Regions from separate parts of the Homo sapiens genome. Here regions 1, 3, 4 and 5 are each linked to region 2. Evidence: promoter capture Hi-C in 16 types of primary human blood cells and fetal thymus (Javierre and others, 2016). All regions are on one chromosome and are shown on one strand. The core of a region is centred on a gene start or on the middle of the fragment in contact, and the rest is flanking DNA. Distances in the headings are between cores, read along the strand shown. Region 1 overlaps SFT2D1 (SFT2 domain containing 1). Region 2 holds the start of CEP43 (centrosomal protein 43). Region 3 overlaps MPC1 (mitochondrial pyruvate carrier 1). Region 4 has its middle 28 kb from the start of PRR18. Region 5 overlaps RPS6KA2 (ribosomal protein S6 kinase A2).

Region 1 (5,201 bases), core at 370-2,869, 670 kb before region 2:
GAAACTAAGGGATGAGGCATCCAGGACCTTAATAAAAAATGGGAAAATTTAGAATATAGTCTTAATTCACTACCAATCTGATTCTTTATACTAAATTAAAGCAAAGTTTTAACACATAGTCTGAATCATTTATTTTGCATATCACAGTGTCATTCAAGAATACTAAGATTCCACGGTTGTTAAGGGTAATATGACCATGGTCTGGGTAGCAGATGATGCTGAGGAATAACCATTAATTTTGCAAAGTCTGATAATATGTTTCACAAAAGTCCTTATCTGTTAGGGACAGCCGATATACACTGATATGGATAAAATGACATATAAGATATATTATAAAATATACAAAGATTAAAAAAACACAGGGGGCAGATGCAACAGGCCAGGCAAAACACTGAAACTGCAGAGGCTGGGAAAGAGTACACAGGTTCATTATCTGTTCTCTCTGCCTCTGCAGGACGAATTCCTCAGGCTCCTAGATGCCAGAGTCTGAGTGCATCCGAGTGCATCCGCACTCAGTGCAAGTCCTGCTGGAGGCAGAGGCTGGCCTTCCACACGCCACCTCCCTTCGGCCGGTCATTGGCTGCAGGCCAGGGGTGGGGTGGGGTGACTGCACCCCATGGAGGGTAGAGGACGCTGGCCACCTACAGGAGGCAGCCTGAGCAGCCCCAGCAGAGACGATCACAGCACGCACCAGACGGTACCCGTTCTAAGCTCTTTCAGTCCAACCCATGAAAGTTTTGGGCCCCTCCTCCACCACTGTAAAAACATACTGTGAAATGATCATTTATTCTAGAGCAACAGCATTCCTATATACCATGCAAATTCTAGCCAAATTATGTGGGGAAAAAAGTAGAAATTACTAAGTCTACTTTGTACAGTATGATAACCCAGCACACAGTAGTGGTGAAATAAACACACTCAGATTACTAATTATACTATTAAAATATATTTTCCAAATAAGGCTAAAAAAGTATCTATCAACAGCAGCTGTGCAAGAAACTAGAAATATACAGCAAGGATTTATATTCCAAAACTTAAATTTCTAATTTATACTACCACATCCACTTAAAAATAAGACTACATGCTTATATTTTCAAGAATAATGAAAAATAAGAGAAAGTTCTATATGCAACAGTTCAAAATACATTTGGTTACATTCCTTACCTCAAGAGATTAATCTGTGAATCCTTATGTAGCATGAAAAGCAGATAAAAATAACTAAGTATTCTGTAATGAAACATATATCACTCTTTAACACATTTTAAATGTTTTTTAAGTTTTAATTCACATTCTTGTTTCCAGCAATGTCATCTGTTTATGGCAAAACTAAACACTTGGTTTTAAACAAAGAGTGAAATTGCCTATAAAAACATCTACATTTCATTCTTACTGATCAGGAAGAATATACACTAAGTATATTTTAACTACGCAGGCCAGAATAAACTGCAAAGACTGAATTACATAGTAAATGATCTGTTAAAAAAAATGGAGACACGCCCATCAGCTTCATTTAACCATCCCACAAAGTATACATAGGTCAAAACATCACGCTGTACACAATAAATGTATATAACTTTTATTTGTCAATTAAAAATGGAAAGAATAATGATTTCTAAAGGTTCGTGTGAGTCCACAATGCTGTGAGGATTTAGTGAGAGGAAAAAGCATCCATTTTTCCTTCTTTTCCAAGTTCAAATCACCCCATTGTTCACAAGTTCAATCGCTGCTTTTCAATAGCCAGTTTTTCTCTCAGCAAGGAAACAGCACGGCTATTTGTATAATAGTAGGTATTTTTTCCTCCTATTGCCATCTTCCGTGTATTGATCTTTAAAACGAAACAGCAGGACAAATTATTTCCACTTGTAAACATGGAATATTCAATCCACAAGCAAATGATTTGTCTCAAGTCTTGCAAATTGTCTAGGATACGAAACAACTATACAGATTTCCTGACTCCTAATTGGGAAAACTGTGATATGCTTCAACATGAAAGAAAACCTGGCAGTGCATCTTCCAACTAGGAGACAGAAGGAACCCTGACGTCTGCTTATCACAAGCATTTTTTTGAGACAGAGTCTCACTCTGTTGCTCAGGCGCCATCTCAGCTCAATGCAACCTCCGCCTCCCAGGTTCAAGTGATTCTCCTACCTCAGTCTCCCAATTAGCTGGGACTACAGGTCCACGCCACCAGGCCTGACTAATTTTTTGTATTTTTAGTAGAAACGGGGTTTCACTATGTTGGCCAGGCTGGTCTCAAACTCCTGACCTCAAGTGATCACCCGCCTCGGTCTCCCAAAGTGCTGGATTACAGGCATGAGCCACGAGCCACTGCACCCAGCCTGCTTATCATAAGCATTTATGTGCTGCTTTCTTTTACCACCAATCAGGAGCAATCCCACCAAAACCAGCAACTTTGTTAATCTCTTAGTCTTAGAAAAGAAATAAAATTGCCACCTCTTCCTCTCCCAAAACCACCATCCATCATTTTACTTATCTGCTACCAGAGGAAGAGGAAGCCAAGAGAATACAGGCCCTTGAGGAGGGGCTGCTCCCCTATTCCCGCCACAGTAAGCACAGCACTGCTTGCAACTAGAACTTCATTCATTAATTTTTTACAAAAGCAGGTGAGAAACATAATAGAGGAAAATGTAGTCCTAGCAGCAACAACATGAAGGCTGAATGAGTGGCTCCCACAGCACAGCCGAAACCCACCCCTTTAAGTGACGGAGAAGCTGAGGAACAGCTCTAATCCACGGATCGCCAGGAGACAGCACAGCTGGAAGGACCTGAGCCTTGCCCCTGGGCTTCTGCCATCTAAACATAGGAAACACTTGTGGCTTTCCACTAATGATGACACTGAATCCAGTATTCCTCCCACTCCTTTTTCAAAATAGCAGTGGGTATAAAAAGTCAAAGTTGTGCAGACAAGTGAGAAAAAGAAACAGACATCCGCAGACCCTCAGGCCCATTCCAGGCAGAACCGCCCGCTCCCCACACCCGCTGCTGGGGTCCACACTTTCTCCTTCTCATTCAGGACTCTTGATCGCGGGGCCTATCCAGATCCTTGCAGCATGCGGCACGGGTTCCACGTGTGCGTGGGCAGCCTGGCCTTTCTGTGCAGCATCCCCTGATCTCCACTGGCCTTTCCCCTCCACTCCACTCAGTGACCCAGCCCAGGGCAGTCTTCCTGCTCGAAATTACACCATCGCCAAAATTCCGGCTGCCGCTCTCCGACCCGTTTCTTCTGGCAGCAGGCTGGTTCCTCGGCCCCACCGTGCTGACTCCTTGGCCTCCTGAACTCCTCATCCGGCCCTTCTCCGTTTTTTCAGCGGCTTCAACAGGACATTCAAATTCCCTTTCCGCTGCCTCCACCTGGTAAAATCCCACCGGAGTGCAGCTTTCCCTCCTCCTGCTCCAGGAGGTGCTGAGCTGAGCACTGCTGGGTGGAGTCAGGCACAGGGCAGGGGGGTCCTGAGCCAGTCCTCATCAGCCCCCCATGGCCTGCACATTGCTGCCTGGCAATCTAAGGCTTCTTGCTTTATCTCAACGTCCATTTTACTCTAAACCACTTCAAACCTCCACTTCCTGCCCCACACTTCCATTCTTAGCAGACAACTTCCCCTACTTCACACACAGAAACCCAAAGCCATCAGTGTGAACTCCCTTACCTTCCTGCTGCCACCAAACCACCAAACCACCAAACACACCAACTAAGAACACCCATGCTCTTGTCCTTTCCTGGTTCCCACAGAGCTGAGATCCACCTGTCCACCCTGCTTTACAGCCAACCCCTTACCTGCTCAGGGAATTGATGCTATTGGGCTTTTTCCTCTAGTGAACATGTTCTCACTCTCTGAAAATGCATCCATCAACTTTTAAACATGAAGTCCCTTCCATCTTAAACAGAAAGCTTACTTCACTTCACCTTCCAGCCTCTGTACACTCATACATCCATTCATCCATCCATCCATCCATCCACTAACTGGCTCAATAAATACTGAGTGCTGCTATGTGCCTGTTCTAAGTGCTGGGTAAGGGATCCAGCTCCTGGTTAAAAATCTATGTGCTGGCTGCTACACCAAAAATACCATAGGCCAGGCACTGTGGCTCACGCCTGTAATCCTGGCACTTTGGGAAGCTGAGGCAGGCGGATTGCTTGAACCCAGTTCAAGACCTGCCTGGGCAACATGGCGAGTCCTCCATCTCTACAAAAAATACAAATATTAGCCAGGTATGGGGGCACACACATGTAGTGCCAGCTACTTGGGAGGCCGAGGTGGGAGGATCACCTGAGCCCGGGAGTCAGAGGTTGCAGTGAGCCGAGATCACACCACTGCACTCCAGTGTAAGTCAGAGTCTCCCAAAGAGCCTAAACAGCTGTGGAAGCTCCTCACTGGAGGGCCGACTGTGGAATCTCGGCACTGGAGGGCTGAGCTTTGAAACAACTGATGAGAACCTGAGAAGCCAATCTGAGCGATGGGGAACGCTCGTGGACTGTGTAGTCATGAGATCCAAGCACCAAGCACTCTGGGGCTTTGGGTTTGTCCTGTATGCCGCTGTGAAGGAGGTGGATGCGCCATGAATGCAAAGCCACACAAGGTGGATGAAGAGTTGTGGAACCAAAGGGCTGTCTCGAGAAGATTCTCAAAGACGAGGTGCCCAACTGTGAAAAAGATATTTGCTGGCGGCATTAAAGAAGACATTGAAGAACATCGCCTAAGAGATCTTGAACAGTATGGAAAAACTGAAGTGACTGAAATCATGACTGACAGAGGTAGTGCCAAGAAAAGGGGCTATGCCTTCGTGCCTCTGACAACCACGACGCTGTGGACAAGACTGTCACTCAGAAATACCATACTGTGAATGGCCAAAACTGTGAAGTTAGGGAAGTCCTGTGAAAGCAAGAGATGGCTAGTGCTTTATCCAGCCAAAGAGGTCGAAGTGCTTCTGGAAACTTTGGTGGTGGTTGTGGAGGTGGTTTTGGTGGGAATGACAACTTCGGTCATGGAGGAAATTTCAGTGGTCATGATGGCTTTGGTGGCAGCTGTCCACAGCGGTGGCGGTGGATACAGTGGCAGCAGGGATGGCTGTAATGGATTTGGTAATGATGGAATCAATTCTGGAGGTGGCAGAAGCTCCAATGATTTTGGCAATTACAACAATCAGCCTTCAAATTTTGGACCCATAAAGGGAGGAAACTT
Region 2 (5,274 bases), core at 450-2,949:
ACACGCACATAAAGGAACCCAGAGACGTGTTTGGAAGCCAGTGTGGACACCCTGTGATCTGTGCGTACACATTTGACACCTGCGTACACACTCACAGACAGAAACACAGAGATGTGTTTGGAAGCCAGTGTGGACATCCTGTGGTCTGCGCGTACACATGTGACAGGTACGTGCACGCCCACATACAGGAACACACAGAGGCCTTTGGAAGCCAGCATGGGCAGACAGGCCCTATCCCAAAGCGGCCGGCAGGCGTCTCCTAAGAATGGTTCTCGGACACACCTCTGAAAGGAAAATACAACTCGGCACCGCAGTTGACTCGGCCAAAGGAAAAAAACTTAAGCTGAAAGCTGAGGCCTGCCCGAAGGAGCCTTTCCTGTGGCGCCTGAGCCGAGGGCTTCAGGGAGAGGGCCGCGCATCGCAGCGCAGCCGCCCGTCTTCCCGTGGCTTCCCTACGGCCGCGGCTCCCGCTGCTCCTTTCCGCCGGCCACGCGGGTCGCACGACCTTCCCCTCCCGCCCACCCTGAGGCGCTGAAGCCCTCGACGCCGGCCTCGGGAAAGGCGCGGCCACCGCCCGTTTCGGATTCCCGTTTCCTTCCTCCGGGCGCGTCCTTCACCGTGGCCAAATCAGCCTCTCAACTGCTGGAGCCCGGCCTCGGACACTTCTCGGCTTACGCCGCCATACAGTGGCGCACCCCGAAACCCCGGAACCGACAGCTCGGCTGGCCTTGCGCACCCACACTCTCCAAGGCAGGGCTCGGTCCGGGGGCTGGTTTTGCCAAGGCGAGGGGCGAGGGGCAGCCCAGGCGGCCGGATGGATACCAAGAGGGCGCGTCAGCTCCGGCGGGACGGGGCTTCCAGGGCCCGGGAGGGGTCCAGGACTCCCCGCCGGCGCCTGGCTGTCGGCGGAGGGCCGCGGGGCAGGAGGGAGTGGAGACTGCGGCCCCAGTTCGGGCAGCGCGGAGCCCACCCAACGCCCTCCTCGGCCCTCGGCTCTTCCTGGGGCCATCCCGCCCCTGCACCTCGGCCTGGCACCTTTCCGGTTAGCCTCGGAGGCCGTGGCCGAGCAGGGTGCGTTCGCCTGGCTGGGGGGCCTCAGAACGTTATTTCCGGGTGACAACCTGCAGGGCCTTCCGCCCCTCGCGACCTCTCGGGAGTCCCTTCCCCGGCGCCCCCCCGGGGCTGCAGGGGCTGCAGGTTCGGTCTCGGGGCCTCCTTACCGCAGTCCGCCCGGCTTTAGGCTAGTGGGCTTTAACTACGTCGATAATATGACTCCGGCGATCTTGTGCGGCGATGGGATGCGGCCGTGGGCGGTGGAGTCCAGGCGGAGTCCGCTCTCCACACGCGAGGGCGCCTCCTCCTCACCGCTCGCCGGCTTCAAAGCTCGCGCCTCAGGCGACGGCAGCCAACGGGTTGCCGGCTGGAGGCCCCGCCGACGCCCCGCCCCTTGCGTGCCCACCCGCGCCCCGCAGCCCCGCCCCCAGCGCCGACCCTAAGTTTCGGCGCTCAGTGGTCCGGCGCTCCCCAAGGCTCGGTGTCCAGCGTCAACCCCGAGGTCTCTATGCCCCGCCTCCCGACGCCAGGGGGCAGGGCCAGCGCGCTGCGCGTCGGGGCGGGGCTTTGGCTGCGTCGGCCGCGTAGCCCGCGCGCGGAGCGTACCCTGCTGCGGCCGTTGGCCGTTAGCGCGGCTTCGGCGGTTGTCTTGGAGAAGCAAGATGGCGGCGACGGCGGCCGCAGTGGTGGCCGAGGAGGACACGGAGCTGCGGGACCTGCTGGTGCAGACGCTGGAGAACAGCGGGGTCCTGAACCGCATCAAGGTGAGGCCGGAGGCTGGGGCCGGGCCTGGCGGATCCGCAGGGCTTGCGTGGACAGCGGGCGTCACAACGGTCGCGGCGAGGAGGCCGCCTCCCTGGCGAGGGACCGGGGCCGGCGGGCACTGGGGGCGCGCCCCGGCATGGCCTCCGTCCTGCCCGCCCCACAGAGGGGGTCGGCTCGTTCGTTCGTGTGGTCCCGGAGGGCACCGCGGACTGGGGGTGCCTGGCCCATCCCCTGCCTCATTCCGTGGGGGCGGGACCGCGGGGCTTGGGGGCCACACGGGCGGCCCGCAGCTGGGCCCTGGAGTGCGGCCCCAGCGTCTCTTCCTCAGGCTCGGGCATGATCCGCGGCGGGAAAGCAGCGCGTCCAGCCGAAGCCTGGGGGTCGGAGAGCTTGTGTGACTGAGAACGTTTCGGAAGGCGTTTCTGACCTTTGCACCTGCCCTCCCAGCTCGTTGGCTTGCTCGTGTTTGTTGCTGGATAAATGTGAGCTTGTTGTGAAAATTGTCTTGAAATTATAATTTCCTGTTTCTTAACTTTTTTTTAAGGCTGAACTCCGAGCAGCTGTGTTTTTAGCACTAGAGGAGCAAGAAAAAGTAGAGGTATGAAGTTTCCAGATTTTAACATGGCTGTATTCGTTAATACTTAATTTCTTATTCATTAAAAACCGTCTTAAAAATAGTTTATAGTAACATATAGCTAGGGATAATTTTGAACTGTTAAGGATTACATTACTATTGAGAGAGAGCCAAAATTATTCTTTTTTCGTGTAGCTTTTGAATTTGGGGGTAATCTTAAGGTACCACAGTAACTCTGATACTAATGCTTAATCTGAAACAAATGGTCATAGGAGTTTCTTGAAGAAATGGTGCCATTGTCAATGTGTTAAGTGCAGGTTCACTCAGATCCTTTAGTAAGCTAATATGTTATTAATCCCTATGAAACGGGGTATATAGTATGCAACTTTTCCCAAAATTATCTGACCACTCAATTATTTTGACAATGAAAAAGACAGCGATTATTTTAAAAGTGCAGCCACTACTCTATATTTAAGTGGGTAATTTAACTTTTTCGGAGTCCCACCAACCATCCTGAGTAAATATTCTGGAATTTGTCAACAAGAATAGAACCATCATCAAAGCCTTAAACTCTTGCTGTATGACAAATCAGTCTACTGTCCTCTCACTTCTTTAGACCTGTATACCTAATCTCTAATTTCATCAAAATCTTCAGTTCTTTGCCCTTTCCATGTCTGTGCAGGCATCAGTCTTCTCTTGGCAGCATTTTGCTCTGGACCCTATGGGTCTGGACCCCTAATTACCTTGCCTTAACGGTCATACGTGGTCTGGAAGAAATCTCAGTGGTCATTTAACCCAGCAAACTAACTCTTCCCACTTTGCACATATGTGCTCTTGGAGAAGAGTCAGTCAATCCTGTGGATTGCTGATGTTGCAAATTGGCAGGTACCAACCTGGTTAGGTCCTGAGCAGGCCCAGCAGCTCTCTTCTTCACCCTAGCTGTGCAGTAGCCTTCTATGTCACCCCTGCTTCCTTCTCTCTGAACACATGGTCTTGTTGCTTCCTCCACAGGGAAGGTAGAAGCCATTAGATCCTAACTTTATGTCCTCCTCTCCTGTCCCTCAATCTATTGCTCACCTGTGAAAATGCTTACCTGTGTCTATGTTTATCTGTACCTCTTTCCTTACTGCTTTAGAAGAAGAGGCTCTGTCCTGTCCAAGAATAATCACTCTGTCTTGTGTATACTTTCAAGTCTTTAATTATTTACTGTATCTTTGACCCCTTCCTTTTCTGATGGCTTTTCTTTTGAGCTTGAAAACATGTTTAAATAACTATTAGGAGTAAACTGTTTTCCTTTACTCACATTCTGCTTTTAATACCGCTGTGGTTTTTTTCCTTCACAACCTGGTTTTGACCACTCCTTGGTTTCTTTAGCATGATCTTTTTCCTGTACACCTGACTGAGACTTATCCACAGTTGTCATTCTGTACTGTCTCACAGACTGACCTTATTCATCCAGTAACTCCAGCCCTGTAACTTTCATGCATGTTTCTTTCCCGAGCTTCAGACCTGTATGTTAAACTGCCCACTGTATTATGCCCTTAATGGGACCATCATTTATCTGGCAAGAAATCTAAGCGTTTCTTAGGCCTTGCTCTTCTTTCCACCTGCTCAGCCATCACCTGGCTCTGTGTCTGTCAGGTGTGTATCTGAAGTGTCCCCAAGGGAGTGCTCTGCTGCCTCCTTTGTGCTTGTTTCTTCTTTTCCAGATTGCCTTATCCCCTTCCTACTTGCCAGTCTCCGTTTCCGTGGTGTCCCTCACCATCTCCCTGAAGTCCTTTTTCCACATTGCTCCTAGATTGGCTGTTTATAGTACACATCTGATCTGTCCCTCCATTCTCTTAAAATATTTCAGTTGACTCCCTATCTTAGAATTCCCTGAACCAGCCTACCAACTACCTTGAGGATCTCTCCTCTCCTTGTCTTTTATTTTAACAACTTTATTGAGGTAAAATTGACCTATAGTAAAGCTAAAGTATTTAATATGTACAATTTGATTTTTAATAGTTAATTTATGCAGCTGTGAAATGATCATCACAATCAAGGTACTGCGCATATCCTTCAAACTTTTGACCTTCAAAAGTTTTCCTTGTGCCCCTTATGTAACCCTCTCCCCCACCCCAAACCTTTTTAAGAATTATATAAATGGAATCGTATAGTAGGTACTCTTTTTTTTTGGTCTGTTTCTTCAACATAATGCATTTGAAATTCATTCATGTTGTGGTATGTATTAATAAATCATTTCATTAATACATTGTACAGATATGACAGTTTAGCCATTACCTGCTGACAGACATTTAGGCTGTTTCCAGTTTTTGAGTATTACAAATAAGGTTTCTGTGAACAGTCACATACAAGTCTTTGCTTGGATCTGTGATTTCTCTTGAGAAAATATGTAGAGGTGAAGTGACTAGGTCACATGCTAGGAATATTTGTGACTTTTAAGAAACACTACCAAATTGCTGTCCAAACTCGTTATGCCATTTTGCATTCCCATCAGCAGTGTATGAGGCTGCCACTGTAGCAGCAATTAATGTGGTCTTAAGGAAGCTTACCATGTGCTACCTACTGTAGCCTCTTCTCAGCAACAATCACAGGCTTGATGGTCTAGAAGTATTTTTTCCATACTTATTCAAATAAATGTATAATTACAAAAATAAGTTGGCCTATGGGCCGCATAAGATCATCTCACATTTCATGGATAAACTGGGAATTACAAGTGTATAATTAAATTCCTGTTCATAGTAAGTATGCTATAAATGGTAGATACCTGAGATGACAAAACTTTTATCAAACTTCATGTATTTGAAATAATAAACAGTTGTTGACATTTAATTGTATTTCACACAGGTATTTGAAAATATCTAGCTTCAAAAGCAGTT
Region 3 (5,105 bases), core at 859-3,358, 620 kb before region 2:
GTCTACTGATATTCAAAGTGATTATTGATATAGTTGTATTACTATTTACCATATTTGTTACTGTTTTCTATTTGTTGTCCTTGTTCTTTGTTCTTTTTTTGCCTTCCATTCTTTTTCTGCCTTTTATGGTTTTAAATGAGCATTTTATATGATTCCATTTTCCCTCCTTTCCTGGCATATCAGTTATAATTACTATTATTATTATTTATTCTTTTTTTTTTTTTTTGAGACAGTCTCGCTCTGTTAGCCAGGCTGGAGTGCAGTGGCAGACCCATGCCGGCACCCAGGCCACCCTGGAAGCTGGTGCTGCTGCTGCCCACTCGGGAGACAATCAAGGAGCTGATGTGGGCACTGGGCCTGCTCATGTAGGAGGAGCTGCTGAAGGCCCAGGGGCCAGAGTTGAACACCTTGTAGGGCTGCTGGGTCACCCTGATGGACATGGTGGAGGCAGAAGTGGAGGCAGGCAGGCTGAACCAGGAGGAGATTTGAAAAGGAGCAGAGGAGCTGCTTTTAGGTCAGTCTAATTTTTCCAAAATTATGGTAATGTTAGCTTTCTCTGAAAGTACTGAGAGCAATTTAAGTAATTTATAACTTACTTATGTAGTACTAAAAGGATCCAACTGACAGCCTAGCATAGTATATTTCTAACATTATTCAAAGTAAAATGGGATAAAATTTTGAGATATTTTAGATCATAATTCTACAGTTTGCTGAAATTTATTCTTACCAAATTTTGTCTAGTTTTCTAGTTCAAATTAAAATGAGGGAGGGTTTTGACAATTAGAATTTGTGATATTCAGCTATATTTAGCGAGCCAAAAGTCAGCTGAATGACAGTAAAGATCTTTGTGACTGGACTATCCAGATATTAAGAGATTCTTATGGCCAGTCCTGCTTCAACATTTCCAGCTTCATTCAATTTCTGAAAGTCAATTATATGGCAGGGAAGTGCTCAAAGAGTCCAAGGACCGGGTGTGAAAAGCAGTTTGGCAGAGAAAAGGGAGACATATGCAGGAAAACATGGAGCACAAAAATATCTAAAACCTTCTTTTCAAAACCATTTCTATGCATTACTATTTTCCTTTAAATCCCAAGTTGACATTTCTGTTTTAGCTTCACAAGTTTGGTATCCAGAGGTTCTGAAGTTATCTGTTTGGTTCAGATATCAGCCTTCTCATGTGGCAAATGAAGCACTGGAATTTCTAAGGCCTGTTCCAACTCTAATATTCCACAAGTTTGGGAAAGATTCACTTTTATTTTACTGCAACTTCTCACCTGGGTAGTAAGTATAAATTCTGAAAGCTTTCCTGGAGACTCAGAAGTTAAAATTAATTTAGAATACCTGATCAACTTGAGAATATTCAATGCAAACATCCCACTAACTTCAGATTCATAAGCATACTAAGTGATTAACTGATTTTAAAGCACTCTATGATCTAGGTTCTTCTTAAGAAAACATCCTCTGCACACATATACAAATACATGTGTGTGTGTGTGTGTGTGTGTGTATCCATTCACCTTTACTGTAATATACAAACTTGAGAAGAGGAATAAGTCGCTAGAATAAAGCTGCACAGACCTTGATTGAGTTAATCATTAAAATATATGTCCTACCTCAAAACTGTTTTGCTTATTCTAATTTATTCTTCTTAACCAGAAATCCAGGAAGGAGAATGAGAGAAGAGGAAAAGCAAAGAAGAGCTCTCTTTTTCTATTCTGTCAATAAGAAAGGTGAGGGAATAGTTTCTTAAGAAAAAGGTATTGGAATAGAGACCCAGGAAGTTCTTGATTCAAGATCCTAATCAAGGTAAGTAACAAGAGATGGAAGAAAGTACCAAAAAGAGAGTACCAGAAATCCTGGGGATTAAACATGCAATATTAGTTACAATAAAAAATAAATTGAACACTTACTTTTGTCAAGCGCTATACTATGTCATTAAACAGCTACGAAAGCACAAAAGCTAAACAATTTGCCCAAGCTCACAAAGCTGGAAAGCAAGAGCTGGGCTTCAAATCCATCATTCAAACTCATCACCTAGGTTTAACGGTATTATTATCACAATTAACAATTGTCAATAATTATTTAATATTATTTAATACTGAGATCCTATTTAAGTGTTCCGTTATCCCAGTAATGCCTTTTCCAGCTGTTTTTTCACACCAGGCCCAATCAAAGTCCACACATTATCTTTGGTTCTTAGGTGTCCTAAGTGAGAGCCTGTTTCATAACCTCTTTCAGTGAAATAAAAAAAAATCATTTAAAATACATGTGGATGGGCTGGGCACAGTGGTTCATGCCTATAATCCCAGAGCTTTGGGAGGCCAAGATGGGAGGACTGCTTGACACTGGGAGTTCAAGGACAGCCTGGGCAACATAGCAAGGTCCCATCTCTAAGAAAAAACAAAAAACTAGCCAGGTATGATTGTGCACACCTGTAGCCCTAGCTACTCGGGAGGCTGAGGCAGGAGGCTCACTCAAGCCCAGGAGTGGGAGGTTACAGTGAGCTATGATCATGCCATTGCACTCCAGCCTGGGTGACAGAGTAATACCCTGTCTCTAAATAAATAAATACACTTGGAAATTCAGTTTAGTAAGAATGTTCAACTTGATTCATAAAACATGATTGAAATAAATTTATAATCTGTGTAAAATATGATTTTAAATTTATGCTGAAAAACTCAATTATGTTATTAATTTTTAAAATTCTAGAACAGCTTTAGTTGAGAAAACCTCTAGACCCCTTCAGTAGGCTACAAAAAGAATGCAGAGGATGCAAAGTGTGTACAACAGGCAACTGATGAAGTAAAAAGAGGAAGGGATGGAACCTTGTTTCTGATTAGAAGAAAAGAGATACAATGACGTTTTCTGCTTTATATTTTATTCTCCTTTGCTAAAGAAAAGCCGGGCTGTAAGCGTAAAGCTTGGAAGAACAAATAGGAAGTACTTTCCTCTGATATGTTCTAGGAAGAAATGTTTCTCTTTCTAGGGCAGGAAACACTAAAATAAAAAGCTTCTGGTCAGAGTGTTGATACCTGACCTCAAACTGGCCCTCAATCACTGTTTGGCAGACCTAGCATGAATTCCCACTGCTGCCAAGAATGGCAGGGTAAACAGATCAGCTGAATGTTTCACATCACGTGTTCACCTTTCAAAAATAATTTCAGTTCAAGATCATAGAGCTTTATAGCTCACACAAGATTTTAACTTTCTAAATAACTGTAAACTTTAAAAAATGTTTTCGCTTGCAAAAACAGAAGGATATAATAAAATGTAGAGTGATTTGGAGTTTCCAAGTATTTTCACATCCCTTATCCAATTTAATTTTCTTGATAACCCAAAAAGAGCATTATCATTAAACCCATTTGATGGACAAATAAAGTCTGCTGGGATCAACTTGCTGGGGATCCTGGACTGTAAGTCATTCTTCTGAATCTTAGTGTGGTGCTCTACCAGGCAACACTGTTCCGAGTAATGCAATTCTCTTCTTTTCCTTATTTAGTCAAAGTGTAATTGAATTAAATACTGGAGAAAGTATAAAAATTTAAAGCTACATAAAGTTAATTTTAGAAAAAAAGGTTAGATGATATACTGAAGTATCCTATTGAAAAGCCTGGCTCTTGGAAACCCATTTAGTAGAAGAAAATATAACACTTAGAAAAGCAGAACTCTCTTCCTTGAAAATATATTTAACAAATTCTTCCTATGTAATGAAACTGTTAGGGCCGGGCATGGTGGCTCACACCTGCTAACCCCAGCACTTTGGGAGGCCGAGGTGGGCGGATCACCTGAAGTCGGGAGTTCGAGACCAGCCTGACCAACATGGAGAAACCCCGTCTCTATTAAAAATACAAAATTAGCCTGGCGTGGTGGTGCATGCTTGTAATCCCAGCTACTTGGGAAGCTAAGGTAGGAAAATCACTTGAACCCAGGAGGCGGAGGTTTGGATGAGCCAAAATAGTGCCAGTGCACTCCAGCCTGGGCAACAAGAGACAAACTCTGTCTCAAAAAAAAAAAAAAAAAAAAAAAAAGAAAAGAAAACGGTTAAGTAATTATCAGCATAATTTTTATATAGCTAGGTGTCATAACTGTATTTTTAATTTTACCACACAATGTTATCCTTAGCTGTACCTATTAGGAAGGCTCAGTATCCAACACATTAGTAAAAAGCTAAAGTAATATTCAAAGCTGTAGAGAAACTTAACAGCAAGGATTGAGAGCATACCCTCAGACTGCTACCTTGTTCACATTTTTACTACCATTAATCTGATACATTGCTGTGCTCCACAGTGCTAAACACCCATCTTAATTAATAGTAGTTCTATTTAAGCATAGAAATGTCTTTTTTTGAAAGTCAGAAGTGAAGCTTCTGTTTACAAGTTTACCATATGGCAGACTGAATTATTTTTCCTACCCTACTGCTCTATAAAAGTAGAAGTAAACAGTATTTGCAATAAAATTCAGGATTTAAAACTTTTTTATTGCTAAAATCAAGTTGCCTTCATACTATCCCTTTTGTGTGGTTATAACAGGATTTATTCCTCCTCAGCTTTCATCTCTTTACCTCTTGACCACACTATTAACTACCGAAAAAAAACCGCAGCTGTACACGTACCTAGGTTTTAAAATCATACACTGAAAAACTAACTAAAATTACACTCCTAAATAACCTAAAACTGCTTCAAAGTTATATTCAATATTTTGAAATAAAAGCAAGCGCCCCAAGATGAGAGGTGCAAATAAATTATAGAAAGTGTATTTTCAGGCTTTCCAACCGCGAATGCTCTTTGTTTCTAACTGGAAAGGAGGAGTTAACAGAAAATAGAACAAGAAGAAAAAGTATGACCTTAGAGACACGTCACTTTACTTTGGTTGACAGAATTTCGTATATAAAAACATCTTAAATTGTACTTCCTCCCAAGCTTAAAGTCCTTAGAATGAGAAAACCGAAAGGCGAACCCAAGGCCAGCACATTTTATTTCCGCTGTCCCAGAAGCGCGCTGGGCGCACCCGAAGCTCCGCTCCAACAGCGCCGCGCCGCGCTCTCAGCAGCGCCTCCCGCTGGCGTCTCCCCACCCCACACCCAGGTCGCCGCCTCTGGCACACCT
Region 4 (5,149 bases), core at 1,515-4,014, 720 kb before region 2:
ATATATAAGTATTTCATTCCTTTTTATGGCTGAATAATGTTCCATTGTGTGGACAGACCACATTTTGATTATCCACTCATCAATTGGCAGACATTTGGACTGTTTTCACTGTTTGACTATTATGAATAATGCTGCTATGAAAATCATATATAAGGTTTTTTGTGAACATATATTTTCGGTTATCTTGCGTAACTGATTCCACCTAGAAGGGGAATTTCTGGGTCATGTGATAACTCTATGTTTAACTTCTTAGGAAACCACCAAATTGTTTCCCAAAGCATCTGCACTACTTCACGTTCCCACCAGCAACATATAAGGGCTCCAATTTCTCCACATCGTAGCCAACACTTGTAATTGAAATCTTTTTTATTAGAGGCATTCTAATGAGTGTGAAGTGATATCGTGTTGTGGTCAAGGTATTCTTTGATATCAACAATGGTTAACACAACAGTTTCTTTTTCTGAGCCTCATCTTCCAATACTTGTACTTTTCACAAACATCAGAAACATAATCACTAGTCATGTGGCCCATTACTGAATATGACGTAATGATTTTATACTTCAGCCATATTTGCGTCATTGAACTTGTCTAACTGTGCATGTGCGTTTTTGTGTGTATGTTTGGTGTACATGCACATGGGCATGGTCAGGCATTCACATGTATGTTTATGCATGTCTGTACATGCATGCACTCGTGTATGTGAGCATGCCTGTGTGTATGTGTGCTTGTGTGCATTTGTGCAGGTGCATATTTGTGCATGTGTGCATGTGTGTGCATTTTATGTGTGCATGTGTGTTTCTACATGTTTTTGTGTGTACACATTTGTGCGTATGAGTGTATGTACATTTTGTGTGTGCAGGTGTGTTTGTACTTTTTTGTGTGTGCACATTTGTGCATGCGTGAGTGTGTGTGCATTTTGTGTACATGTGTGTTTGTACTTTTGTGTGTGCACATTTGTGCATGTGTGAGTGTGTGCATTTTGTGTGTACATGTGTGTTTGTACTTTTGTGTGTGCACATTTGTGCATGTGTGAGTGTGTGCATTTTGTGTGTACATGTGTGTTTGTACTTTTTTGTGTGTGCACATTTGTGCATGTGTGTTTGTGTGCATTTTGTGTGTGTATGTGTGTTTGTACATTTTTTTGTGTGTTCACATTTGTGCATGTGTGCGTGTGTGTGCATTTTGTGTGTACATTTGTATTTGTACAATTTTTGTGTTTGCATATTTGTGCATGTGTGAGCGTGTGTGCTTTTTGTATGTGCATGTGTGCTTGTACATTTTTTGTGTGTTCACATTTGTGCATGTGTGAGTTTGTGCATTTTGTGTGTACAGGTGTGTGCACATTTTTGTGTGTGCACATTTGTGCATGTGTGTGTGGATTTGTGTGTGCATGTTTGTATATGTTTGTATGTACATGCATGTGTGCACAAGCTTATGTGTGTTTGTGTAGACATGTGTTTGTGCATGTGCATGTGTGCTCTCCTCCCACACAACTAGATCTCCTGGTCACGAGTAATTGTTCCTTTGACCATCCTTTTCCATTACTAAGCTGCCAAATCACGGGTGCCTAACTGGCACCAGGTGCTTCTGGGACAGTGCTCTTCCAGAAGAGCCTAGAGAGCTCACTCTGACCACGGCCCCCAAGCTGCTCCCCTTAACAACTTCCAGAACACTCTGGGGTAAAGATAAAATGAATTCATATTCTGTCTGAACCCCCAGTCCTCAACATAGCTCTCAGACTCCCTTTCTTTTTGAGACGGAATCTCGTCGTCACCCTGGAGTGCAGTGGCTCCTTTTTTTTTTTTTTTTTTGAGACGGAATCTCGCCCTGTCACCCAGGCTGGAGTGCAGTGGCGCAATCTCAGCTCACAGCAACCTCCACCTCCTGGGTTCAAGCAATTCCCCTGCCTCAGCCTCCAGAGTAGCTGGGATTACAGGTGCGTGCCATCATGCTCAGAAAATTTTTTTTTTTTTGTATTTTTAGTAGAGATGAGGGTTCACCCATCTGCCCACCTGGGCCTCCCAAAGTACCGGGATTACAGGCGTGGGCCACCGCACCCGGCCAGCTCTTGTACTTCCTATTCAGCCTCCTGAGACGTAGTTCTGTTAGAAATTCCCTCACATCTTCCCAAGGCCACCAGCCCTCTATGATCTGCTGCCACTGAACCTCACTCTCTCTAACCTTGTCTCCCATTCCCTGAAGCTCAGTTTCATGCCCAGAAGGCCCGACTCATGGTCCGTAAAGTTCTTTCATAGCTCCCTTCACCGTCAGCCCCTTCATACCTTCTAGCTGTGCTCGGACAGCCCCTCTCGGTGAGAGCTTTGCTGAGCACCTTATTAAAATTGCAGACTTCACCCCACCCTCATCCTCCTCTCCCTGCACTACTTTATTCTTCTCCATACTGCTGATTACATTCTAACAAACTGTTTATATACCTGATTTACTTCTGTACAATTCCAAATATAGCTTTAGAAATAATTAACTTATCCAGCTGGCTTCCTGGCTGTCTCCCTCCACCAGACCCAAGCTCCGCTGCCGGGGCTGCTTCACTGTCATGTTCTCTGCCTGCATCCCTGCTGCCCAGAACACTGCCTGGCACACAGGAGGCACTCAATCGGTGTTTGTTGAATTGAATGTGTGTGACACTGGTCAGAGGAGGAAGGAGTAACAGATAAGCTGATAAAAACCATGGTCACTCTAGTGATCATTTTAACCCCAACAAGGGTGAAAATGAGAGGCAATAGCTTCAAGTTCAAGGCATCTAGAAATGCACTTTGAACATCTTAAATAAAATTGTATTAAACGGATAAAAAATATATAGTTCAAATATTTTTATGTCAACTTGACTCTATGCTCTTGAAGCAATTATTCAGAGTATCTGAGTTCTCAATGAACATCTTTCTAACAAGTCTTGGACTTTTCCGTAGTAACAAAAATGGAAGAGCTTCAGAGCACCAGGGCGGGGGGCAGGGGAGCACTACCTGTCTGAGCTCCCGTGTCTTTGTGGGAATGTGGGAATAACAATGTCTCACAAGACTGTGCTGGGGATCAGATGTAATCATGTAAAAAGGAGCTGTGAAGCATACAATGCTAAGCAAACCTTGTTATTCTCACTATGACTACTTCCAGGCTCATCTCCACACTACTGGGGTGAGAAGGGATTTTGTGTAAGGACCGAGCACTTAGCCAGCAGAGAAGTCATTTCCACAGATGGTGTCCTCTGAGACTGCAGGTCTTTGCGGGATAACAGCGCCGTCTTCCTGAGCTGTCCGGAAAGGCGATGTCCATGGGACCCAAGAGCTCAAAGTCCCACCAACCCCCTGAGGCCCCAGTTGCAGCCCCTCAGCCCCAGCCTTTCTGGAGAGGTCTGCTATTTTCTGTTCAAATCCAGAATTCCTAGCTCCTGAATTATTTTGTTTGGACCATCTCCTTGGGTGCATTCGCCCAGCTGTGCTGAATGGCGTTGCGGGGTCTACGGGAGAGCAAGTGTGAAGACTGGAGGCAGTGGCAGCCCGAGGGTGGGGCTGGAGCGGATGGTGAAGGGTGAGGATGGAGCCAACAACCCACCAAGGAACATGGAGCTGAAGGGCCTCTGCACACTGGGACACCTGTTCTCAGTCTTTATCCTCTCAGCTGGGTTGTGCGAGGTCCCTCCTGCCTCTGCACCTGGGGGATCAGAGAGAAGTGGCATTGAGCCTGGGAGTCCTACGGGGAGGCCAATGGGGCAACGCAGACCATGGAAACGCCACGGCACCCTGGAGGAAGCTACACCCTAGAATGGGGCTGACAAAGAGGGAGCTGAGGAGTACACCAGAACCATGAGCTCTCAACCCACTGCAGACGAAAAGACAGCACTGTCTGCACGCAGCCTTCAGCAGCTAAGGCAAGGAAGAGATGCTTGAAGAATCATGTCTGCTGAAAACCCAAGGATCCATGGAGCTGAAGAAAGAGGAGGGTCCAAGGGGGGCCGGAAATAAAGAGACCTGCGCTCAATCAACCCTCAAAGGGAGTTCACCAATTTCTTAGAAAGAAGGGCACTTACGTTAAGTTCATTCTTTCAAAATGATTTCCTGAGAGCCTCTGTATTTCTTCATGAAACAAGCTTAAAGAGAAGCTCCCCCAGTGCACACCAATACGTTAGTATATTGTTCTATCTTTGAATATTTAGATTCGCATTAACTGAAAAGTAAAACTACTCACAGGTCGCAGTCCACAGTGTGGCTTAATCACTTCCAGGCTTTGTATTGTCACGTTAGTGTTCTGACTTGAGGCAAAACTGAATCCTTTGAGGCTATGAGACCATAACAGACAACTGCGTAGAGACCCTGGTGCCCAGAGAATGAGCGGAGCCCTAAGCAGCTGCCCTCCTGAGCTCTATCTTCACAGGCCTCGCTCCAGCCTGTGCACTGCACCTGCGTCTGACTCACAGGTTCCTGATTGCCAAGATGTGTTACAGGAAAACTGTGCACACAGGCATCTTATCACCTTGTTTAAAAAGTATGTTTCTCCTTTTCTCTGGACCGGATCCTAAATCAGAGCGAGTCATTGGTATCTTGATTATTGTCTTGTGTCAAACAAAATGTTTATTTCCCCCGTGGAATGTAAAATTCCCAGAGAGCATTCCTCTCTGGCTCGTACTCATACTGGTCATTCCATCTGCTATAATTTGAATGTGTGCCCCAAAGTTCACATGCTGGAAGCTTCATCCCCAGTGCAACAGTGTGGGGACTGTGGCCTTTAAGAGGTGACTGGGTCATGAGGGCTCTGCTTAGTGAATGGATGAAGGCTGTTATCACAGGAGGGGTTCTGTCGGGATTGGGCTGGGCTCTGCCCCCTTTCCCTCTTTCTCTCTCTTCCGTGCTGTCTTCTGCTTAGTGAATGGATGAAGGCTGTTATCGCAGGAGGGGTTCTCTTGAGATTGGGCTGGGCTCTGCCCCCTTTCCCTCTTTCTCTCTCTTCCGTGCTGTCTTCTGCTTAGTGAATGGATGAAGGCTGTTATCACAGGAAGGGTTCTCTTGAGATTGGGCTGGGCTCTGCCCCCTTTCCCTCTTTCTCTCTCTTCCGTGCTGTCTTCTGCTTAGTGAATGGATGAAGGCTGTTATCACAGGAGGGGTTCTCTCGGGATTGGGCTGGGCTCTGCCCCCTTTCC
Region 5 (4,751 bases), core at 2,039-4,538, 590 kb before region 2:
AGGGTTTCCTAAGTCAGGGTCCTCATCTGTGATGCAAATTCAACGTGTGCAGCATGTCCACCTGGGCCACTGTCCACCAACCCATAAGGCTTGGGGCCCACAGGGACCGATGTGTGCGGGGCCCATGCTGTTTGCTGGGCCTAGCTGTTTGCTAGGTCTGTGACCTAGAAGTCTTGTGCCTTCATCCAGCATCCGTGAGCCTGCAAGTAGGGCCAAGCCTCAGAGACTTACTTCAGTCTGGACAGCTTGTCTTCCCCAACCAAAAAAATATGTGCAGGTGGACAAGTGTACGCAGAGCCACGCTCAACTACATGTATGCGGCAGGCGGGATAATCCATCCCCCCCACCAAAGTCCACGTCCTAATCCCTGGAAGCTGTGACAAAGGGGAACTGAGGTTGCTGGTGGAATTCAGGGTGCTAATCAGACCACCTTAAAATAGGGAGAGTTTCCCAAATATCCTGGTGGGCCAGTGTGCTCACAGGGCTTAGAATTGGAAGAGGGAGGCAGGAGGGCTGGGCGGAGGAGAGGGTGTGAGAACTCCACCTGCCACTGCTGAATTTGCAGGAGGGAGGGAGGGACCACGAGCCACCAAGCGCAGATGGCCTCTGGAAGCTGGAAGAAAATCGGATTCTCCCTGAGAGCCTCTGGAAGGAGGCAGCCCTGCCCACATACCGGTTTTAGTTCAGAGAGCCCTGTCTTGGACGTGTGACCCACAGAGCTGTAAGACAGTAGAATATGCTGCTGTTTTAGATTTGCTATGGCAGATATAGAAAATGATACACAGAGGATGTAAGAGGCATTTTTTTCAAATGATGCCTCTTTCAGTAGGCATTTTTTGGGCACTTCTGGGTACAGCAGGAGGCAGGATTTCTTCTGCATCTATTGTTTGTCCTGCAATTTCCTCAGTGGGATCCAGGGCTCCTGCCTACACAGTGAGTCTCACAGATTTCAGCAAGGCCCCCTTCACCCTGCTGGGAGAGCAGCTCAGAAAATGGGGCATCCTACTACAGGAGCAAAGGTGTGTGTGTGTGCCTGTGTCAGTATGGTGTTTTGTGTGTGTGTGTGTGTGCTGCTTGCTGACACATGCTGGTTAGGAATTTACCAAATAGGAAGAAGAAATTAGGTTGGAGAGCCAAGGACCAACAGTGCAGACTGGCTTTATGTCTGTATTAAGAAGGGATGGGCATGCTGAGGCCAGGTGGCAAAGCACAGGAGACACAGTGAGGTAAAAATCCTATTCCCAGGGCCATGTGCTGGGCACCTGCTTTGCTGCACAAGATGACCGTCCACTGTCTCCTGCCAGCCCCAGATCCATCACACAGCTGGGCTCCTCTCAGGGGTGCATCCCCCACACACACACACAGGCCCTAATGCACACACAGATAAACATACATCCATATGTTCACATGTGCATATGTGCTCTCATGCACGTTTATGCATGTATACACATGCATGAAATCATACTTCCACATATACACACATAAGCACACACGTACACACATGCATATGCATGAACTCACCCACCCACACACCTGTGCACACACACATAAGCATACATGTGTACACACTCATGAACTCACCCGCCTACACATGCGCACATGTGCACACACAAGCACACACACACACGTGCATACACATGCATGAACTCACCCACTTACACACGCACACATGTGCACCTACACATATGTACATACACACATATGCATGAGCTCACCCACCTGCACACACCCACGCACAGGGCTCTGAGTTGGAGTGGTCGTGATGCTGCTTCACCTCCCCATGAGGAGTCATATGGTAGCAGCAGAGGTGGTCATGACCTGAAGCCAGCGGGAGGGGCCAGAGGAGTGGGGAGCTATCCAGACTGTTATTGGTAACAACACAGAAAGTCCAAAGGTTATTGTTAGGCTAGAAAAAGATTACACTTCATAAAACCATGTTTATTCAAAAAAATCTATTCAGAAAGTCTGGAAAGCGTAATAAATATCTGTACAGTGGCCACCCATCTCAAACATGAATTACAAAGCAGGAACATAAAAATGATGTGTAAACATAACTGCTGAGCCAGTGAACAAAGTGCTGAGTCAGGAGCGAGGCAGAGAAGCGTGCTCAGTAGAACGACACAGATGCTGCAGCCTCCGTCCTCAGCCCCTCAAGCTGCGCTGGAGTCCACCTTCCGCCCTCTCCACACCGCTCAGGGACCGGCAGCGTCCTTCTCCATTCTCGAATTTGCATGACGCTTAGAAAGGTAGGAGGCAGCAAAACGTGTCAGAAATGAACGGAGTGCAAATCAAACTTTGCCATGTGCTTGAGAGAATCAGTAAAGCGTTAGGTAAAAATCCCAAGTGCAGCTTTAGGATAACACCATTTAATGAACAATACTGGATAACATTAAGTACTATTATCACTTTAAAATTCAAACAATCTTCCAAACATCAATACATACACAGTTAGTTTAAAATCACAGACAAATCGGACTTGAGGGTAAAAGTGAAATCCTCACCTCTTGCCCATGTTTGACTTTGGGATGGAATTCAGCAAAGCTCTCCCACTGCAGATTGGGAGAATCAGGTATTTCTCCCACATGGGGGGCTGCCAGGGAAGGAGGACCCTATAGGGTGGCCAGCAAGGGGCCACTGGCGGTAGGTCAGGAAGCCTGAGATCTAGGGTTCAATGTGTTTATAAGTTCTGTGATTTTCATGACCCGGGGGTGGGGGGTTGGGTTATGATGAACTGTGTGAGGAAGGAGAGCCAGTTAACTTTTGGGGAGGTCTATGTCATTTGTGCAAATCATACGGAGCATTTCATTCGTTGTGGAGGTGCGCTGAGCTGGCAAAATGCGAATTCTAAGAACACCTTCATTTACATGTCGACTGCTGCTTGAAAGCAGTCACTTGCTATTTCACTAAGGTTTTTGAAAGCTTAGTTTAACATATGATACCATAACTTCTTTAGGCTGACTTTTGTGGAAGGATGTCAAGTATCATTTTGTTCTGGATATGGGAGGGAAAGTAGAGGTATTTCACAGACACTCAGCGGAGCAGGGCCAAGCCAGTGTTCTCCTCCGCTGATGCACATCAAATACATGTAAGGACAGAGCTCGCTGTGATGGGGAGTCTCGTCGGTCCCTTTGGCATTCTTAGAGTTCAGAAGCTAAGTCTGTACAAACTGGGATGACTGAAAAAGACCATGAGCTGGTGCCCCATGGGCACACAAGGAGGGAAAACCGTGGCCGCTTTCTCACGGATGCTTTCCCTTTCACTTCCCCCACTTCTCACTCCCTGCACCAGAACCCACTGACTTTAAGCAAACAGACAGGCCTGCACACCAAGCCAGGCCAAAGGGTCCGGGCAGCTGATGGGGGAATCGTTGCCTGTGTAGCAAGCAGAAAAGGTGATGACTTTTGTTCATTTCTGGGAGGACAGATTGTGTGACCTCAGGATTATCCACTTCTTCCTAAGTTTCTAAAAAGAAGTGAAATAATTAAGACCTAAAAAGCAAATTCATCATGGTGGAAGTCGTTCTAGCCTTGGGAAAAAGCATCTTCTATGGAGAAAATGTGAGGAATACCCTGTGGGCACTATGGAAACAGGTATTCAGTCCGACTTGCTCCTTTTATGTTTTGTGGTTCTCTAAGAAAAAAAAAATCCACATGGATTAAAGCTTGTGAAACAAGTTTATATTTTAAGGTCTGAAAACAATCAGACCAAGCTAAGGAGTTATTTTTCAGAACGCAGCACATTTTTTCTTTATTTTTTTTTTTTTAGTTGGGTACGAGAATCGAGATGGAGGGGGAACAAAACCCAACAAAATAACATCTTCTTAGGGAAAACCTGGCTGTGGCCAGCGGGCACCTCCTGAAGCCCTGCTTGCTGCAGAGGCGCCGCTCTTCAGTGATGCAGGGTGAGGGGCTGAGCGGCGCCTCCTCCCATCTAGTCTGCTTGGGGGCCGCCAGGGAGCATCTTCAACACCCTTACAGGACAATGAAGGACCCGTGTGTTCCCTCTGCCGGCTGGACTGGGCGTCGATCCTGCTGCCCGGAACCTCTCACTCGATTTTACTCAATGAAGTAGAGCACAGCATGGCCTAAATGCCCCACACCCGCCCTGTGTGCACACCCAGGGGAATACGGATCAGTGTGAAAAAACAGATCTGTGCAACAGAGACACAAAACGCAACACAAAGCCACAGCATCTACAAAGTGCATCGCTCCTGTCCACGCTGATCTCCGCTGCCCTCCCACCTGTGCCTCTGCCCCTCAGTCTGCTGGGTGGGGCCTGTGTCTCCCTCCAGCCTCCAGCTGGACTGAGAAGGTTTGGGTGGGAAGCCACAGAGCTCCATTTCTCCAATTCACAGTTTCTCCACAGACCAGAAAAATCGAAGTGAACACAGCAAAACCACAGCTTTAGGTGAGCACACAGGAAGCCGACACAGGGCTGAGCAGGTGCGAGAACCCACGACTCCCTGCAAAGCCTCCAGATAGCTGTGTGGCCACGGGAGCTGGGGACAGACGGCAGCCCAGTGCGCTTGGCCCCCCGGGGAAAGCCGAGACTGGAGGTGGACACAGGCTCCTCCGAGAGGCACCCCCTTCCATCCTGGTGACACGGAGCTCTCAAGGCAAAGATCCAGCCTGCCTTCCTCTCGTCTGGGCTCTTACTCCTCATTTGAATCTGGGACAGAGGAAAGGATGGGCTACCCAGCACCTCAGGCAAAAACTGAAGGGCGAGGAGGAAACGGCTCTTTGGATTATTTT

Evidence for each region. The method cuts DNA at HindIII sites, captures the fragments that hold promoters and counts their contacts. A CHiCAGO score of 5 or more calls a contact.
Region 1: a fragment that was not itself captured here is called in contact with the fragment with the promoter of CEP43 in region 2 in 1 of 17 cell types (non-activated CD4 T cells); the score reaches 5.7 in non-activated CD4 T cells.
Region 3: a contact is called between a fragment that was not itself captured here and the fragment with the promoter of CEP43 in region 2, in 8 of 17 cell types (monocytes, erythroblasts, naive CD4 T cells and 5 more). The highest score is 7.9, in monocytes.
Region 4: a fragment that was not itself captured here is called in contact with the fragment with the promoter of CEP43 in region 2 in 4 of 17 cell types (non-activated CD4 T cells, total CD8 T cells, total CD4 T cells and 1 more); the score reaches 6.2 in non-activated CD4 T cells.
Region 5: a contact is called between a fragment that was not itself captured here and the fragment with the promoter of CEP43 in region 2, in 7 of 17 cell types (total CD8 T cells, naive CD8 T cells, fetal thymus and 4 more). The highest score is 14.5, in total CD8 T cells.

What each region holds. Positions count from the first base shown.
Region 1 is chr6:166,330,221-166,335,421 of GRCh38, forward strand. It overlaps SFT2D1 (SFT2 domain containing 1), which reads right to left. Exons shown (of 8, transcript NM_145169.3): 2 at 1-27. It also overlaps the pseudogene HNRNPA1P49. Among named protein-coding and RNA genes, the nearest start is that of SFT2D1, 9.7 kb to the right of the region's middle. RefSeq lists an enhancer at 3,400-3,449. The HindIII fragment of the contact is 4,577 bases long and covers 1-3,908 here.
Region 2 is chr6:166,997,698-167,002,971 of GRCh38, forward strand. It overlaps CEP43 (centrosomal protein 43), which reads left to right and starts at 1,700. Exons shown (of 13, transcript NM_007045.4): 1 at 1,700-1,817; 2 at 2,363-2,416. The coding sequence starts at 1,716. It overlaps MIR3939 (microRNA 3939), which reads right to left and starts at 215; the gene lies at 110-215. RefSeq lists an enhancer at 182-231 and silencers at 772-1,001, 1,292-1,811, 1,902-2,061, 2,072-2,161. The HindIII fragment of the contact is 9,184 bases long and covers 1-4,940 here.
Region 3 is chr6:166,376,937-166,382,041 of GRCh38, forward strand. The region is part of intron 1 of MPC1 (mitochondrial pyruvate carrier 1); the gene reads right to left. Among named protein-coding and RNA genes, the nearest start is that of MPC1, 3.5 kb to the right of the region's middle. The HindIII fragment of the contact is 1,619 bases long and covers 1,300-2,918 here.
Region 4 is chr6:166,278,210-166,283,358 of GRCh38, forward strand. No RefSeq gene overlaps it. Among named protein-coding and RNA genes, the nearest start is that of PRR18, 28 kb to the right of the region's middle. The HindIII fragment of the contact is 2,671 bases long and covers 1,430-4,100 here.
Region 5 is chr6:166,407,469-166,412,219 of GRCh38, forward strand. RPS6KA2 (ribosomal protein S6 kinase A2) reads right to left here. Exons shown (of 21, transcript NM_021135.6): 21 at 1,896-4,751. Among named protein-coding and RNA genes, the nearest start is that of MPC1-DT, 27 kb to the left of the region's middle. The HindIII fragment of the contact is 742 bases long and covers 2,918-3,659 here.